2 separate regions of the Homo sapiens genome follow, and region 1 is linked to region 2. The links are contacts of gene promoters, found by promoter capture Hi-C in human tissues and cell types (Jung and others, 2019). All regions are on one chromosome and are shown on one strand. The core of a region is centred on a gene start or on the middle of the fragment in contact, and the rest is flanking DNA. Distances in the headings are between cores, read along the strand shown.

Region 1 (3,386 bases), core at 519-3,018, 200 kb before region 2:
TCCTTCCATCTTTTAAAAATTTCTTACAAATGTTTATGAAGCACTTTACGCTGGAGTTGACAGTGGGCAAAGCAGTCACAGTCCCTGCCATGGTGACCACAGTCTAGTGGACAAGAGACAATAAATTCCTCACCAAAATAAAGGATTAAATCGCTATTTCACCAAGTGCCAACAGAGGCCTGGGGTGCCTGCAAACCTGTAACTGAGGATTTGGCCTCAGCGGTAATGTCAGGGAAGGCTTTCCAGAGGAGACGATATTTAGGCTGAACTAACGGGAAATTAGGAAGAACTCGGCAGAGGAGAGAGGCAGCAGCACCCCAGGAGAGAGAACAGCATGTGCAAAAGCACTGTGGCGGCCGGGAGGGTGGCAGGCCAGGGACTGGAAGAAGGCTTATGCAGCTGGAAGAGAGGCAAGGGGGTGCATGAGGCCAGACAGGCTGGAGGGCTTACCAGAGGCAGGCCTGGGGGATGGCCTGGGCCCTGCCTCACAGCCCTGGGTGCAGTTGGCTCCTCCTCACTGGCTGCTCTGCTCAAGGCTAGGCTTGGACCCATAGCATAAGTCCTAGAGCCAAACCTCCTGGCCCTGACAGAGGCTGCCCTCTCTCCACTTTTGCTGCATGTCCCTGTTAACACAACCTCAGCTACAGTGGCTTCTTTTGTGGCTACCTGGCACTGTGTTGAATCTCATTTATGAGGCCACACTCCTCTGTCCACCCAGCCACCCACCCAGCACAGCCTGGCCCAGTCAACACTGACTTGCCACCAGCAGCTCAACTCAAATGCACCTGCTTGGGGAGGCCGGTGCCAACTCCTCAGGCAGGGTCACCCCTCCTTTTGCTCTCCCCAAACTCCCAGCATGCCTCCTTGACAGCAGTATCCCACTGAAGTGGCTGGATGGACCCCTTGCTCTCTCACCAGCCTGCAGGTTCCATGAGGCCAAGACCAGCTGTCTGTGGGCACCATCACATCACTGCAGAGGCTGGCACAAACTCTGCCCTCAGCTGTTTGTTGCATGAATGACTTACATGCCTGAGCCCCTGCCCTGTGCCAGGCCTTGTGCTGGATGCTGGGAACATGAAGACCAGTTGTAGATGCTGGTAGGGGAGACAGCCAAGTAAACACACAGGGACAATGCAGGGTGCAGAGTGCGGTGACGAGGAAGCACAGGGGCTGGGGGGCACTGAGGGGGTCCCCGGACCTCACTGGAGGACCAGAAGGGCCAGAATTTGCCAGCTGGGAGTGGTGGTGGAGAGGACTCTGAAAATGAATGTGAGGAAAATCCGCCTCCTCCAGCCTCCCCAGGGCAGGTCAAGAGTATTGGTCGCTGCTCTGCATTTGAAAAGTGGCTTTAGTTGATTAGGTTTCTTTCCCCTCTTGGAATGTGGCTGCTCTGACTTGCTCCTCACTGCATTCCTTGCATCCTCTTCTCTCAGCCCTGCCTTCAGGACATTGCCCACAAAAGTTTCATCTTTTCCCACCTGGGCTCTACTCTCCCTCTCCCACCCCCTCCATGGTTCTATGTCCCTCACCTTCCTGGCTTTCAGCTCATTCACCCAGCTCTGGCCGTCTCAATGCGTGGGTGCCAGCCTGCACCCTCTTTACATGAGCTTTGTTGATTTCATAACCATAAATAGATAAAATGTTCTGAATGCTTTCATGTGCAAGTAGAATTGAGGGAGTGATAGCATAATGAAAAGGCCTCAGGAAAAGGAAAACAGCTTGCTAAGATGCAGCGGAAGACAACACGGTCACTGCACAAGCCAGCTCTGCGTGGGTTTCCTATTCTCACTGCACTGACCGCGGAGCCATGGACGCAGGATGGGGAGGTGCTTAGGAATCTGTTAGAAAACCTTTCCCTGGTTTCAAATCCACCAATTCAAAAGAACAACCTAGAAAAAAAACAGTAGAAGTCAGGAAAACCTGGGTTCAATTGTGGATTTATCTCATTCTAGCTGTGTGATCCTAGGCAAGTTAATCAACCTCTCTGAGAAGGCATAGAGAGATTCTTCCCCCCTGGGTCAGACTGGAGGCTTCGGGAGGCCCAATATCCCACAATACCTTCCTTTTCCTCCCATATGTAAATTTTGTCTTCCTGACAATTCGTTAATCACCAGCCCTGAGACCCCCCTGCCCAAAATGCAGTCCTGAAGACTAGGGTCGGAATAGGGATGGAATGGGGTACCCTGCCTCCTCATTGCCTGTTCCAACTCCTGGTGCAGGAAGTGGAGCATCATCCTGCATGGGGAGGGTACATCTCCACAGCCACAAAAGGGGCTGGAAACCAATAAGGAGCCTGACCCATTGGGCTTCCCACCTCTCCTCCTTTAAGTTGTCCAGGAGCACTACTTCTCCATGGCCTTTGGAACAGTAAAGGGGGCTGAAATGATAGCTTGGTATACCCTGGGTTAAGAGAGCTTTCTGGGTGAGAAAGAGAAACAAGTGGAGATATTCCTGGTGTGAACTCATCCTCTGGTCTAAGGATGGCACGCTTTTTCTCTAAAGGATCAATTAGTAAAAAGTGTCAAAAAGTTCTTTAGGCTTTTTGAACCATATGGTCTCTGTTGCAACTACTCAGCTCTTCCATTGTAATGTGAAAACAGCCATAGACAATGAGTAAATGAATGAATGTGACTGTGTTCCAATAAAACTTTATTTACAAAAGGAGGCAGCAGGCTAGATGTGGCTAGATTTGCAGTCCATAGTTTGTAAACCCTAGCCCTATCACGTGGTGCAAAAGAGAAAGCTTGGGTTGGGAGCAGGAACTAGGGGTGAGGCTCAGCATTGCCAGACTTGCTGTGTGACTTTGATTAAGTCATTATCTATCTCTGAGCCTTTGTTTCACCATCTATCAAATGAGCATCATAATATCAGTCAAGGCTGGGTGTCGTGGCTCACACGTGTAATTCCAGCACTTTGGGAGGCCAAGGTGGGAGGATTGCTTGAGGTCAGGAGTTCAAGACCAGCCTGGGCAGAAAAAATTTTTTTAAATTATCTGGGTGTAGTAGTTTATGCCTGTAGTCCCAGCTACTCGAGATCCTGACACAGAAGATCATTTCAGCCCAGGAGTTTGAGGTGGCAGTGAGCTATGATCAGGCCACTGCACTCTAGTCTAGATGACAGAGCAAGACTGTATATAAATAACAATAATGATATCAGCCAGATTTGTCGTGAGAATGTGTCTAACAGGCCAGAGCAAATCTGAAGTCTTTTTGTCCCTCTGCTTCATAACGTTAAGTGGATTTGCACCCACTGCCCATGCCAACCTCAGCTGGCCATGCCCTTGCCTGCTGAGGGTAGCAGCAGCCTGCCAGAAAGGAAGGTGTCTCTCTCCAGGGTCAGATTCTTCATCTGTCTTTCCAAGCTCGAGCCCCAAGTGACCCCATTTC
Region 2 (3,457 bases), core at 835-3,334:
CAACTCCCGGGTTCACGCCATTCTCCTGCCTCAGCCTCCCTAGTAGCTGGGACTACAGGCCCCCGCCACCATGCCCGGCTAATTTTTTGTATTTTAGTAGAGACGGGGTTTCACCGTGTTAGCCAGGATGGTCTCCATCTCCTGACCTCATGATCCGCCCGCCTCAGCCTCCCAAAGTGCTGGGATTACAGGCGTGAGCCACCTCGCCTGGCCCAAGCACATGCCATTTCAATGGCCTTGTGCTACACAACTCCCACCCTCCTATTCTGCTCTCTGTTCCAGGTTCTGGCCATATTGGGCTCTTTTTTTTTTTTTTTTTTGGAGACAGAGTCCTGCTCTGTTGGCCAGGATGGAGTGTGGTGGCGTGATCTCAGCCCACTGCAACCTCCACCTCCTGGGTTCAAGTGATTTTAATGCCTCAGCCTCCTGAGTAGCTGGGATTACAGGTGCCAGTCATCATGCATGGCTAATGTTTTGTTTTCAATTAGCAATAATTGCGCCTCGGATAAACCTCATTGGCTATGATACTGCCACTGCGCAAAGCTAATGTTTTGTAGTTTTAGTAGAGACAGGGTTTTACCATGTTGGTCAGACTGGTCTCGAACTCTTGACCTCAGGTGATCCGCCCGCCTCAGCCTCCCAAAGTGCTGGGATTACAGGCGTGAGCCACCGGGCCTGGCCCATACTGGCTCTTGACTCTTCCTTGAACCAGATTTGCTTCTGCCCCAGCACTCTTTGACTTGTACTTTCTGGCCGGCATGATCTTCCCTCAGAGGATGGCTTAGTTCCCTTGATTACTCCAAGTCCTCATCACCATCTAACACGCTTATGTTTTACTTATTTCTTGCCTGTTTCTCCCCACCATAAGATCCAAGAAGGTTGGGATTTCTGTCATTTTTTTTTGTTCACTGCTATATTCTTGGTGGTGTCCACATGGTAGGTGCTATTTGTTGACTGAACACGTAGGCAAATATTTCCCTGAGTTTGTCACATGTCTATGTTTTTGATGTTGTCTGCCATGCAACAATCTTATTTACATACTCAAATCTGTTTAAAAAAATTTTTGAGACGGAATCTCACTGTCGCCCATGCTGGAGTGCAGTGGCGTGATCTTGGCTCACTGCAACCTCCGCCTTCCGGGTTCAAGTGATTCTCCTGCCTCAGCCTCCCAAGTAGCTGGGATTACAGGCGCGCACCACCACACCCGGCTAATTTTGTATTTTTAGTAGAGACGGGGTTTCACCATTTTGGCCAGGCTGGTCCTGAACTCCTGACCTCCGGTGATCTGCTTGCCTTGGTCTCCCAAAGTGCTGGAATTACAGGCGTGAGCCACCGCTCCCGGACTAAAATTTTTTTTAAGGCTCAACTTTTGCTTCCTGCAGAATTAATTTTCTCGTTTATTAAACTGTTTATTATGAAAACCTTCAACATACAATAACGTCATTCCATTATTTCTTGACTGGGAATTCCATCAGGGCAGAGGCCTTTGATTTTTCACCGGCTGCCAGGACCTCAGCAACCCCAGGGAATGTTTCCAAAGAATCAATTAATGGCACGAGGGCTTCTCCGGGGCCTGCCTCAGGTCCCCTCGCGGTGCTCAGCACAGTCCTGGGAGCCGTTTGCCGACTCAAGGCGCCTGTCCTGGTTTCTCCCGCCAGGCCCGGCCTTCCCCCGTACACTCACGCGGCAACCCCCAGGCGCGGGTTTGGACAGGGCTTCCAGAATGGGAGGAGCCCTGACTTCCAATTGTACAAAGTTTTCCTGGGAGCCCGCCGGTCCCAGCCCCACCCGGGCCAGAGACCGCCTTACAGACTAGGCCTCTCTGCCGCCGGCGCCGCTCGCGCGCGTTCTCCTCTCTTCAGCCCTCCCTCTTCTTCCCAACCCCCTCTCCCGCCACGGGCTGTGGCGGTTGGTCGTCCCTTTCCCACCCCCTCAGCTAACGAGCGGGCTCTAGGCCCTCTGGGATTGGCTGTGCCTGAGCACATCTTCCCTCAGCGTTTCTGATTGGTCGCTGGACGCGCGGGATGCGAGTCCCCATTGGCTAGGCCAGGGCGCCTGCGCGGCGGGGTTCTCGGTCGCCAGCCATTCCTGAGGAGGACTGCCGGTCGTTCGGACGTCTTGCCTGTCGCTGGAGGAGAGGTCCGGGCTCTCCAGGAAGGTGGCTGCGGCGACAAAATGAAGATATTCGTGGGCAACGTCGACGGGGCGGATACGACTCCGGAGGAGCTGGCAGCCCTCTTTGCGCCCTACGGCACGGTCATGAGCTGCGCCGTCATGAAACAGTTCGCCTTCGTGCACATGCGCGAGAACGCGGGCGCGCTGCGCGCCATCGAAGCCCTGCACGGCCACGAGCTGCGGCCGGGGCGCGCGCTCGTGGTGGAGATGTCGCGCCCAAGGCCTCTTAATACTTGGAAGATTTTCGTGGGCAATGTGTCGGCTGCATGCACGAGCCAGGAACTGCGCAGCCTCTTCGAGCGCCGCGGACGCGTCATCGAGTGTGACGTGGTGAAAGGTAACGCGGAGGCGCGCTCGGGGGCGGGGGCGCGCTCGGGGCACTCTGCCTGTTAGCCACGCCCCTTACCCGGGGGTCGGTCACTGCGCGGTTGGGAGGGGTGGGGAAGTGCGCGGGAGCAGGTCGGAGGTGTTGGGGGCGCGTTGGGTAGAGCCACCCTCCTCCCCTGCGGTCCAGGAACCGTCCACCAAGTAGGAGGAAGCGGCTCTGGGTGGGTGCGGCGGCCACTGCGAGCCAAGCTACGGGGCCGGGGACGCGCCTGAGAGCCTTGCGAGTGTTCCGGGGGCGCGCCTTCTCCTGGTCTCCTGGGCCTGGCACCCAGCGGAAATTGGGAAGTGACGGGCACAAGCCGGATCATGAAGCGGGGAAGATTTCTCCACTTCCCCACTTCCTCTCCAGACGTCGGTCAGAGCAAGGGAAGAGGGAAAAGGTGGGGGCTGACGCCCCAAGGCCGCCCTCCTGTTCCCTCCCGATGAATGTGCTCAAGCGGAAGGTAACGGGGCCCTTGGACGTTTCTCGGGCTGGGGTCTTTTAGTCTTGTCTGGCATGGGTCTACTCATGGGCACAGTTACACGTGGGTACGAGAGGGGCCCCTTCCGAATCACTTTGGCCTTTCAATATTAGGTAGGTTAGGCGTGGCAGCTCTGTGCTTTTCTCCTCCCTCAAACTTGGGGTTTTTCTTTGGGCTCGATTTTACATCTGTCAACTGGAAACCCCAGCCTTTTGCATGTGCAAGAAAGCTTGTTTTATGAAGTCCCCTTCTGCGTAGTCTTTACATGCCAAGCCAGTGCCCTAGGGCAGTGTCATTCTTTTATAAGCTTGGTGACTTTGCAGGGGGGCATACTCTGGCTGAGGGGGTCCTGGGGAGGGGTCTGTGAGAGCTCTTCATTAAACAGTGGCTAAACACGGTTTACTGAATCAGTAGTAGTCATTGCTTGAGTAGTC

Evidence for each region. Contacts are between HindIII fragments. The study calls those that stand out against the background at their distance.
Region 1: a fragment that was not itself captured here is called in contact with the fragment with the promoter of RBM14 in region 2 in 6 of the 25 tissues and cell types used here (adrenal gland, dorsolateral prefrontal cortex, liver and 3 more).

The regions. Positions count from the first base shown.
Region 1 is chr11:66,412,966-66,416,351 of GRCh38, forward strand. It overlaps a transcript of NPAS4 not described here. Among named protein-coding and RNA genes, the nearest start is that of NPAS4, 6.4 kb to the right of the region's middle. RefSeq lists enhancers at 601-1,119, 1,120-1,638. The HindIII fragment of the contact is 7,963 bases long and covers 1-3,386 here.
Region 2 is chr11:66,614,546-66,618,002 of GRCh38, forward strand. It overlaps RBM14 (RNA binding motif protein 14), which reads left to right and starts at 2,085. Exons shown (of 3, transcript NM_006328.4): 1 at 2,085-2,512. The coding sequence starts at 2,176. It overlaps RBM14-RBM4 (RBM14-RBM4 readthrough), which reads left to right and starts at 2,085. Exons shown (of 2, transcript NM_001198846.2): 1 at 2,085-2,512. The coding sequence starts at 2,176. It also overlaps the pseudogene RNU4-39P. RefSeq lists enhancers at 1,561-1,670, 2,035-2,968, 2,101-2,330. The HindIII fragment of the contact is 10,275 bases long and covers 1-3,457 here.